Linked DNA regions of Homo sapiens: region 1 is linked to region 2. Evidence: promoter capture Hi-C in 16 types of primary human blood cells and fetal thymus (Javierre and others, 2016). All regions are on one chromosome and are shown on one strand. Each heading gives the region's core, a stretch centred on a gene start or on the middle of the fragment in contact. The rest is flanking DNA. Distances are from core to core; before and after follow the strand shown.

Evidence for each region. Contacts are between HindIII fragments. The CHiCAGO score rates a contact against its expected background, and 5 or more counts as called.
Region 1: a contact is called between the fragment with the promoter of LAMA5 here and the fragment with the promoter of BHLHE23 in region 2, in 4 of 17 cell types (non-activated CD4 T cells, monocytes, M0 macrophages and 1 more). The highest score is 5.7, in non-activated CD4 T cells.

Annotation. Positions count from the first base shown.
Region 1 is chr20:62,364,235-62,369,144 of GRCh38, reverse strand. It overlaps LAMA5 (laminin subunit alpha 5), which reads left to right and starts at 1,833. Exons shown (of 80, transcript NM_005560.6): 1 at 1,833-2,196. The coding sequence starts at 1,900. RefSeq lists enhancers at 1-230, 2,329-3,028, 3,727-4,426, 4,427-4,910 and silencers at 1,710-2,149, 4,478-4,772. The HindIII fragment of the contact is 18,996 bases long and covers 1-4,910 here.
Region 2 is chr20:63,003,673-63,009,047 of GRCh38, reverse strand. It overlaps BHLHE23 (basic helix-loop-helix family member e23), which reads left to right and starts at 2,084. Exons shown (of 1, transcript NM_080606.4): 1 at 2,084-3,121. The coding sequence starts at 2,274. The coding sequence ends at 2,999. RefSeq lists enhancers at 31-100, 952-1,659, 1,660-2,365, 4,690-5,203. The HindIII fragment of the contact is 10,733 bases long and covers 1-5,375 here.

The sequences.
Region 1 (4,910 bases), core at 584-3,083, 640 kb after region 2:
AGCTCCGGCTGACACAGCGCATTCTCAGGGCCGGCCCCCGCTCCCCTCCTGGCCAGTGCCGGGGGACAGCGGAGGCCTGGCAGCTTGGCCTGATCTGGCCGCTAGGAGGCTTAAAGTGCTCTCCCCACCCCCACCTCTCCCCCTGCCCCGCCACTCGCAATCCCACCCCTCCAACCACCCGACCCTCCAGGGATCCCAAGAAGCCCTCAGGGTCTCAGGAGTCTCCACCTCCAGTCCCCCAGGCTGTCAGAGCCCCAAGCTGTCAAGGGGGAGCCCAGAGCCAGAGCACACTGCCTGGGGCCAAGCCCCCACCTGGGGACCCGCTACTGCCCAGAGGCCACTCTCTGCCTCACACGGGATCTAAAGCAGCTCAGAGCCGGACTCTGCGCCTGGACTGCAGATTCCTTGATGTCTCCGCCCCCTCTCCAGCCAGCCCCTCCCCCACTTGGAGCTTCTCCTGCCAAGGGGAGCCGCCTCCTCTCCCCCCTCCCCCAGGTGGGAGAACTAATAGTGAAGTTATGGAAGAATTGCCGGGCCGGAAAGTAGGAGGAGGGAGAGAGGGTCCCATCGCCCTCCCGACTCCGTAGAGAAAGGGCCATACACCCTCTTGGGATTTGAGATTTGCAGGAGGCCAGGGCGCCAGGAAGGTGTGCAAGGAGGTGCACCCTCCAGGGACAGCTGCTAGCTCAGAACCCCCACCAGAACCGGCTGGCCAGTGCCCCACAAACCCACCCAGCCCCCCGGGACTGTCCAGGGAACCCAGCGAGAGATGAGCCCCACAGCCCATCTGGGACCATGGCCCGCCCAGCTGGCCTGGCTCAGGGATGGGGGTTTGCTGCCAGCTCGGCAGCTGCAGCCCCACCCCGCCGCCACCCCCTCGGGGCTTCCCTGGAGGCAGATTTGGCCCCGGAGCCCAAGGGAAGTAGGAGACCCAGGGCCGCAGCCACCCAAAGGCAGACGAAGACCTGATCTCGGCCTCTAGGTCCTGTGCTGTTTGCCAGGCGTCCTCGAGCCGCCGATCGTGGCAGGAACGCGTGCGCGGCTGTGCAGCGGGTTGGAGGCCAGGCCGAGAGAGCTGGTGGAGTCCACCGGGCCCCGGAGCACAGGTGCTTCCAGGCACCCAGCAGGTGCTCAGCAGCTGTGACCAGAGCCCCCGACCTCCTTAAGAGCCAATTTGGCGGCTGTGGGGCCATGAGCACCGCCCCCGTCCTCTAAAGGGGGCTGCAGCTGCAGGCCAGTCCCTCCTGCCCCTATTTCCCTATCTGAGAGTATTTTTAAGCCCTGCTGGGGCAGGCGGGAGCCAGGCCGAGTTGAACCTGACCTGGCTGCCCCAGGAAGCAGGGGGTTCCCACCTAGGCTGCCCCGTTCCTCTGCAGATGGTCATTCGCGGGTGCAGAGGGCACCTTCCCGCAGCCAGCAGGACGGACGCTGTTGGGGGAGGAGCGGGGGCAGCCGAGTGGTGCACCCAAGTTAGGGGAACAAAGAGTGGGCCCCTGGGCTGGGAGGAGCTGGTGGGCGCTCTGGGGGCCAGGGCGTCGTGGGGAGCGCTAGGGTCCCACCCGGGACCCGGAGCTACGACCTGGGCTGGGGGCCCGGCGGCGCCGTCGTCCCACGGCCTGGCCCGAGGCCAGCAGGTGCCCCTTCCGGGAGGCGGCCGGGCCGGGGTCCGAAGGGTTAAGGCCGCCCGGCCGCCCCTCCCCCTCCTCTCTCCTTCCCCCCCCCACCCCGCCTCCCCGGACCTCTCCCCGGGGCTCGGGGCTCGGGCGCTCGGGCGGGCCGGGGCGGGGCCTGACGTCCGCGGGCGGAGCGAGCCCTGCCGGCCGCCTGGCTTCAGACCCGCCGGGCTCCCGCCGCGCGCGCTGTCCCTGGAGCTCGGGGACGCGGCCCGGAGCCGGGAAGATGGCGAAGCGGCTCTGCGCGGGGAGCGCACTGTGTGTTCGCGGCCCCCGGGGCCCCGCGCCGCTGCTGCTGGTCGGGCTGGCGCTGCTGGGCGCGGCGCGGGCGCGGGAGGAGGCGGGCGGCGGCTTCAGCCTGCACCCGCCCTACTTCAACCTGGCCGAGGGCGCCCGCATCGCCGCCTCCGCGACCTGCGGAGAGGAGGCCCCGGCGCGCGGCTCCCCGCGCCCCACCGAGGACCTTTACTGCAAGCTGGTAGGGGGCCCCGTGGCCGGCGGCGACCCCAACCAGACCATCCGGGTGAGCGCAGGGGCGGGCCGTGGGGCTTCCTCCCGGGGCACTCGGACCCGGAACACCGGCCCGACCCCAGGGGGAGCGCCGTGGCCCGGGGCGAGTCCAGGTGCGGACTCTCTGGTTCCGCATTTTGGGGGCCCAAGAAGGCACCCCGACCCGGCCGCTCCGTCTCGGCCGGGAAACTTCGCGTCCCTCCGGGAAGGCGGAATTAAAGTCCCCGGCATGGACCCGGGGGCGGCTGGGCGCCGGTCCAGTTCGACTGCGGTGACCGGGGCGGGAGGGGGGCCGGGCCCAGTCCCTGGCGGCCCCAAGTCCGGGATCCCGGGGAGGGCGGGACTTGGCCTCCGCCGCCTGCTGCCGGTGGGGAGGGGGCGCAGCTCCGCCCTACCCGGGACAGGCTGGAACCTGTTGGCCTCTGGATGGGGTGGGAGGGGCCAGCCACCTGAGGCTCCCACTAGCCCCTCTCGGAGGAGTCTAGGGACTCGAGGAGACCTCCAAAGTAGGGGAGGGCCAGCTGCGAAGTTTTGACTGGGGCTGGGAACACGTGGCTCCCAGGAGGGGCAGCATCTCTGCCCAGCAGGTGGTAGGGTCCGGGGGCTTCAGTCTCCCTGGGAGATGTGGGTTCAGGCCCTGAAGACCCCCTGGGGTGCATGTCCCCTCCCCAACAAGCCTTAAACCTGTAGGCGGGTTCTGTTGGTGGACTCCATGCATGGACACCTCACCTGAAAACCAAGGCTCTTGGGGCCCTGTAGACTTAGGTTGGGCCTGGGGTCAGCCTTGGGTGAGGAGCAGCAAAGTCAGCTCCAACGGCTCCCAACCGGCCGCTCTAGGCCCATTCCCCACCTCAGCCCCACCTTAGGGAGAGTCTAGGGGCCCTGAGGGCCTGTGTAACCTGAGCTGTCTCCTCCCTGGTACCTCTGCCTTCCCGGAAGGAGAGGCTGGGGCAGGGGCGAGTAGCTGGAGATTTGCTGGGTGGGGGCAGAGGGCCCTGGAGCAAGACGTTATGGGGATGAATGGAGGAGCCTGGGCTGGGCCCGCCCCCTCTGCCTGCCCCACCCCCTTGGCCCTGGTGGAGGGGGAAGGAGCCTCCCCAGGCTTCTGGGCTCACCGTTCTCTCCTTAAGCCCAGCACAGTCCTCTGAGATAGGAGGTCTCAAGCCCACACTTCAGATGGGGGATCTGAGCCCTGGAAAGCTGCTGACACCTGCTTGGAGCCCCCCAGCCAGAACAGGGTCCAGCGGGGGTTAGCTGTGGGAACCTGGGTGCCTCCTGGCTGCCCCCTTATCTGGTCAACTCAGAGGGGCCGGGTCTCAGGACGGAGGGCCTGTGACTGTCTCCTTACCTGCTGCCACACCTCACCACAGAGGGCCTGGCTGAGTGTCCCCAGCTGAGATTTTGCCGTTCTGGCAGGGGAGGCTCCAGGTGCCCTGTGAACCTCAGACCACCCCCCCACAGCCTGCCCATGCTGCGTGGCTGGGGGCCACAGGCCCCCTCTCAGATCTGTCTCCTCTGTGGGGGCTTATTACCCCCGTCTCGTGAGTAAAGGGCCAGCCTGTAGTCAACGCCCCTCTCCTCTGCCTCAGCTGTGTGGCTTCCCTCTGTCAGCCTCAAGCTGTCTTTAAAATGGGCACAGCGTGCTGGCCCCCCTCACCTGAGACTGTGAGCTTGGCCCGAGGAGCCTGGGAAGTGGCCACAGTTTCAGTGGCAGCTGTGGGCTGTGGTGCTCCATGCCTCAGAGCCAGCTTGGATGAGAAACCAGCCGGCCTCGCCCAGCTCATGTCTAGCAATAGAGGTGAACCCTTCGCTTCCAAAGTCTCGAGCTCTGAGCAGTGAGTGCCCGCTGAGGCTGCCAGATATGTAGAAAGATCAGCTGGTAGACGTGAGCTGGACGGGTATGACCTTGGATGCCTCCTTCATCTGAGAGCCGCGGGTCTGCTGACCGCCCTGGCCGCGGATTGGGCGTGTGAGAAGTCCTTGCCGGCCGGTCTGGAGTGGAGCTGCGGTTGGGGCAAGGCAGGCAGGCACAGGAGGTGCCCAGGCGATGAAGCCGCAGCTCCATCTGAGGGGGCTCACTAAGGCTATGGGGCCTGGGGCTGGGCAGTGTGTTCTCAAGGCTGCAGGCCAGGGGCTCTCAGGGACCCTCTGTAGGAGATGCACATTAGCTGGGCATCCCAGATGGGGGTCGGGGTGAACCCTGCTGGGCAGCTGGAGCAGGCAGAGGGCAGGGGGAGGTTGTGGCCCTCACAGCCCCAGGTGGGCATCAGGGGATCCCTGGCCGGCCCAGCCTGGGAAGGTGGGGACTGGGCAGCCAGGCCAGCATGGTGACTCATTGGAAGGGGAAGTCCTTATCGGCCCTTCTGCTGTTTCCTAGCTCTGTTCTCACGGGACCCTCCGCAGCGGAGGTGGGGGAGCCTGGTTTTCCCAACCCTGTCCTCTGTGGCTCAGTGAGTGGCCGAATGGGGACTGGAACTGCCTCCCAATAACTGGACCAACGCTGGCCCAGGCAGGGACTGAGCAGGTGCTTCCCTGACCTCCTGGAAGAGTAGAGGCTGACCCTTGACCCGCAACCTTCCACCCAGCTTCCCTCTGCTGCTCGTGTGTCTGGGAGGGTCTTGACCAGCAAGCAGCCTTCCCTGGGAGGTCCGGCTGTCCCAGCCAGAGGGCGCCGCCCACACCTACCTTCTCCAGGAGCCCCTGGCCCCACCCTGAGCAGGACCTGTG
Region 2 (5,375 bases), core at 835-3,334:
CTGGGAACTGGCCCAGAGCCCTGGCTCCCTGCTGGGGAGTTCGGACCTCCCAAAGCCCCGGCCCAGCCCCAACCCCAGCCCCATGGCGTCAGCGTCTCTGGCTTTAATGGGGACCCTGCTCCAGCCGATGCTTTGAAAGCCACTCTCACCCACACCCGTGATGTCAATTACCGCGTACCCCTCAGAGGCCTCCCCACCAGCGCTGGCTGCACCTCCCCTCGGGGGCCTCCTGCATTCTCCAGCTCCATAGCTTTCCCTCCTGGTCAACCCCATCCTCCTGCTCCCCCAGCTCCGGGGACCTGTGGAGCCACCTTCCCCCATGGCCCCCACCAGCCCTGCAGTTCAGGCCCAGGAGGAGGCCCCGCAGCCCCGGACCGCACCGGCAGCAGTGCCAGAGTGGCTCTCCGAATGGCCACGGCGCCTTTCTTCCCATAAAGACCAAACTCCCCGCGTGATTCAAACTGTCCCACAGGCCTGGTCCCGCCCCTCTATCTCCTGGCCCCACCCGGGCCCCTCACTGCCCTTCCCTGTGCCAGGCCTCCTCCGGCCACCTGAATGCTCCCCCGACCCCGGCCCGTGGCCACAATGACACCCACTCACCCTTCAGACCCAGGCCCAAACACAGCGGCCTCCTCCACACCAGGTATCCTCAATTCCCGGTCTGTGCATCAGCCCCGAAGGCGGGGTGGGGTCCCAGGACAGCGCCTCAGACAGACGCTTCCATCCTCGGGGCCCCTGCGCTCCTGGCGGGCGTGTGCTGGGGGTGAGGCCGGTGCTGCAGGACGCGCAGCCAGACAGGCCGCCAGCCCGGCAGAGGCTGCCTCAGACCCATTCCCCTCCGCCAGGACAAAGGCCTGAGTTTCCCACGGAGACTTATCCATGCATCTGTCTCCTCACACCCCGCACCTGGCAGGGAACCACCGGACAGGCCGGTCACTGCTGCGTTCCCAGAACCTTCCAGACAGCACATCCGCCCCACACACGTGCAGCTCCCACTCCCCTCCCGGGGCTGCGCACACTGCCCCATCGCTGTGGCTCCTCCTGGGGCGGAGCCTGGAGAACAGGGAGGGTATGCGGCCCTTCCCAGGTCACACAGAAGGGCCCGACGGGCCGCTCCACCTCGTGCCATAGGCCAGGGTGGCCCAGTCTCCCACCCAAGCCAGGACCGGAGAAGCCACTATCCCTCAGCACACTCTAGCCTCAGCACTCGGCCGGGCCTCCAGGCAGGTTCCCACCTGGGAGAAGGGCTGGGGTTCTGGCCTTCATGCGGGGTTGGAAGAGGACTGAAAAGGCGAGTCCGAGGCTGGCCACATTCCCATCCAGTGTGGCTGGACCCCAGGGGTTCGGAGGCTCCGGGAAAGCCCACCAAGCCTCACGCGTTTCGCTGATAGATGCCCAGGAAGCGGCTGGCAGGGAAGAGGCGGTCCTGCAGCTCACAGAGCTCCCCTCCCACCCCCGGGGAGCCCCAGGCCGCGCTGCCCTCCACCTTCCCGCCCTCCCCGGCCTGCAACGCTCGTGGCGTTTTTCAACAGGTTCTAGAAACTCCCTCTCACTCTGCCCCTCAAGCCTGGCCACAGGGCGCCCCGAGCAGGGAGTGTGCGGGCTCCGGGTACACGCTGCGCCGCGGCTGCACCAGAGCGCCCACGACCCTGACCCCGACCCGAAGCGGCCCCTCAGCGGGACAGGGTGTTGGCGCTGGCGCTGCTGCTATTGCGGCGCGCCCCCCCGCTCTGGCCCCTGCGTGTCGCCAGGGACTCTTGCGCTAGGGTCAGACTCAAAGACGGACCGAGGCGGGTGCCCACCTGGGACGCGTGCGTTTGGTGGCGGAATCCCCGGGGCGGCCGGAGGCGGCGGCCGGGGAGTCGAGAAGCAAGTACTAGCGCTCCAGGACCGCGCGCGCCGCCCCGCGCCGCCCCGCGCCGCCCCTCGGTCCAGAGCCCCCACCCCCGGCCTGTGAGCCTGCGGCGCTGGTGGAGCCCGGCTCCAGGAAGAGGAGCTCACCCGGTCCCCCCTGATTGGACAGCAGCGAGGTCCCACCGGGCGCCTCCGCGGCTTAAAACCGAAGCGGGGGCGAGGGGGAGGTAGAGCCCGCCCCCTGCGCGTCGCGGCTGGGAGGGAGAGGAGGTGGGAGAGAAGGAAGAGGCGGAGGAGGCAGCGGGCGCCGAGGCTCTGGGACCCGCAGGCAAGCCAGACCGACGCGCAGAGCCGGGAGCCTCATCGCAGCGGCAGCGGCAGCGGCGGGCTCGGGCCGGCCTCGGGGGCTGCTCACCCACATGAGCATCCGCCCACCCGGCGAGCCCCCGAGCCCAGGCGGCGCGGCCATGGCCGAGCTCAAGTCGCTGTCGGGGGACGCGTACCTGGCACTAAGCCACGGCTACGCGGCGGCGGCTGCGGGTCTCGCCTACGGGGCGGCGCGAGAACCCGAAGCGGCCCGCGGCTACGGCACTCCGGGCCCGGGCGGCGACCTCCCCGCGGCGCCTGCACCTCGCGCCCCAGCTCAGGCGGCGGAGAGCAGCGGCGAACAGAGCGGGGACGAGGACGACGCCTTCGAGCAGCGGCGGCGGCGGCGCGGGCCAGGGAGCGCGGCGGACGGGCGGCGGCGGCCGCGAGAGCAGCGGTCTCTGCGGCTCAGCATCAACGCGCGCGAGCGGCGGCGCATGCACGACCTAAACGACGCGCTGGACGGGCTGCGAGCCGTCATCCCCTACGCGCACAGCCCGTCGGTGCGCAAGCTCTCCAAGATCGCCACGCTGCTGCTCGCCAAGAACTATATCCTCATGCAGGCGCAGGCCCTGGACGAGATGCGGCGCCTGGTGGCCTTCCTCAACCAGGGCCAGGGCCTGGCCGCGCCCGTAAACGCCGCGCCCTTGACGCCCTTCGGCCAGGCCACTGTGTGCCCCTTCTCCGCAGGCGCCGCCCTGGGGCCCTGCCCTGACAAGTGCGCCGCCTTCTCCGGGACGCCCTCCGCGCTTTGCAAACACTGTCACGAGAAGCCGTGACCGCGCGGGCCCCCGGCCCTCCCGCACGCGTCCTCCGATCGCCCCTGTGACTGTCTCTCTGCCCGGACAGGAAAGGCCTGGAGGGACCCTGCAGACCAGGAGGAGGGGGCCCGACTTCGCTTCCAGCCTGTGCGCGGTGGACAGTTTAGCGCAGCGGGAAGCGCCAAGGCCGTCGGGGCGCGGGATTGAGCTCGAGAGCCGGACGCTGGACTCTGCGCCCGGGAACTCGCGGCACCCACTGGGTATTGTCGGGACCCAGCAAGTCTAGGAACGGGGGTGGGTAGAGCATCCTTCGGGCACTGCCGTTCGTCCCCAAAAGAAGACCACCGCGGGGTCCCAGGGCCACGGCGAGGACGGGCACTGGTCAGATTCCGGACAGGCGGTCCTGGCCCCGGGCGCACGAAAGGTGGAGACGAAGAAAAGCCGGACTTACTGGCTCCTGATCCTCTTGCAGTGGGCCTCGCGCTCCCGCTCCAGCCGGCCCTTCGTGCTAAACTGCAGGGCAGTGCTCTGTTCCTGAGGACGCGCGTGGCCGGCACCTCCCACCTCGGTGACTCCGAGACTCCGCAGCCCTGCGGAGAGCCCACGATGGCCGTCTGCAGAGGAGCTGGACCGCGGGCGCAGGAAGACCCCGGGGAAGGCCTTTTCCAAGTAGGAGTTTGTTCTATTTATTTGGGAATTGGACGCCGTCGCCGGCTGCCTCGAAGTCTGAGGAATTTGTCCCCTAAATGTCCCCTGGCCTCCCCCCCCCGCCGCCATCCGCTGCCTGGGACGTCCGCGGGGTGGAGTTGGATGGAGACCGCTTTGCGGGCCCTCTGCCTCGGGGGGCTGCGTGGAGGAGGGTCCTCACAGCCCGCGCCCTACTTAACCCTGACGGTCAGGGGAGGGCCCCGTCTAGCCCTGGTGTCCAGCAAACCCCCTCCCCACCGATCCCCTCTCCCTTCCGAGGGAGGAGGCCGGGCTACGGGTGAGTAAGCTGCTGCGGGCCCCGTGCCCCGCCGGGTGTGAACGGAGATGCGCTGCGCAGTGCCCGTCCTGCGCAGCTCCCAGCTCTGCCACCATCCGGGATCCAGGGAGCCGGGCAGGGTGCCCCCGGGGACCCATCTGTCCGCGCCGGTTTGCGCCCCGCGGCCCCGCCGCAGTATCCGGCTTTATTAACCCAATTTCCTCGGCTGTCGGTAATGCCAAGGGGAGAGGGCCGCCGCCCTGCAACGCGCCTGTCTACAGCGTTTAACTCTGATTAATACATTCCACAGGGCCTTCTGTACTTGCAAAATCAAGTGTATGGTTAAGTCTTATTCATAAAGACATATGCCTAATACTGGTTTCTGCTAATTTCCACTTTTATTTCTTCATTGTCTTTTTTTTTTCCCCTAACAGACTAGTTTATCAGTTTTGCACATTCGAAAAGCTGAGTGCCAGACACCGTTTTTCCCCTTTTAGATAAAGTGGGAAAGCTGGAAACTCAAATGCCCTTCACTTCTAGGGTCATTTCAACGTGATCTTAAATAAATTACCTGCTTATCAGAATTTGAAACAGGGGTGTTTATTCTGGTTAAAATCAGAGACATTGGTACATCATTTATATTCAGAATAAAGCATTTTATTGCCATTTATTTTATAAAAATAATATGGTTAAATTTTAATATCAAGTGAAATAGTGTTCATTTGTAGCTGAATTCACAATAATTTCAATTTTCAGATACTTGTGTCCACTCGAAACCAGAGTCTGAAGAGTCTCTGAGATGCTAAAACTCATCTAAAAGCAACCACTTATTATAGCACATGTGTGAAATCATAAGGAAAAGGGCAGAGGAAAAAAATCTCTCTTTCTCTCTTTGGGTGGAGAATAAGTTTTTGAAAAAACCACTTCACTAATCAAAAATTCTTCCGATTACTTAATTTAAATAAAAATTCAAGTTACATTTAAACTTTTTTGTACATGACAAAGCTGTGTGTCTACTGTTCTACAAACGTCTGCATGCTTCTCACTTGGCCTGAGTGGAGTGGAGTGTTTCGGAGAATTAGCTCGCCTTCTCTGCAGTGGCTGCTCGCGAAGCCACCTGGGCAATCACAGTGTCATCTGGCCTTTCTCAGATTTGCCCAAGGATCTTCTCATTCCAAGACAGCCCTCCACGGCCTGTGTGCCCACATCTGGCAAACAGCAAAGCAGAACCCACGTGGGTGCCTGTGCAAGCCCGTGGCTCCCGAGAAACGTGGGGGGCTGCTCGTCTTTTCTCTGACGGCTGTGCTCCTGCAGGTGTGTTGAGAATGGCTGGGGATCACCGGGAAAGAACTTCACCGTCACCACCCACCAGGAGCCACCCTTCCCCCAACACTCAGGGAGGAACCAAACACGAAAGAGCTTTGCTTCCA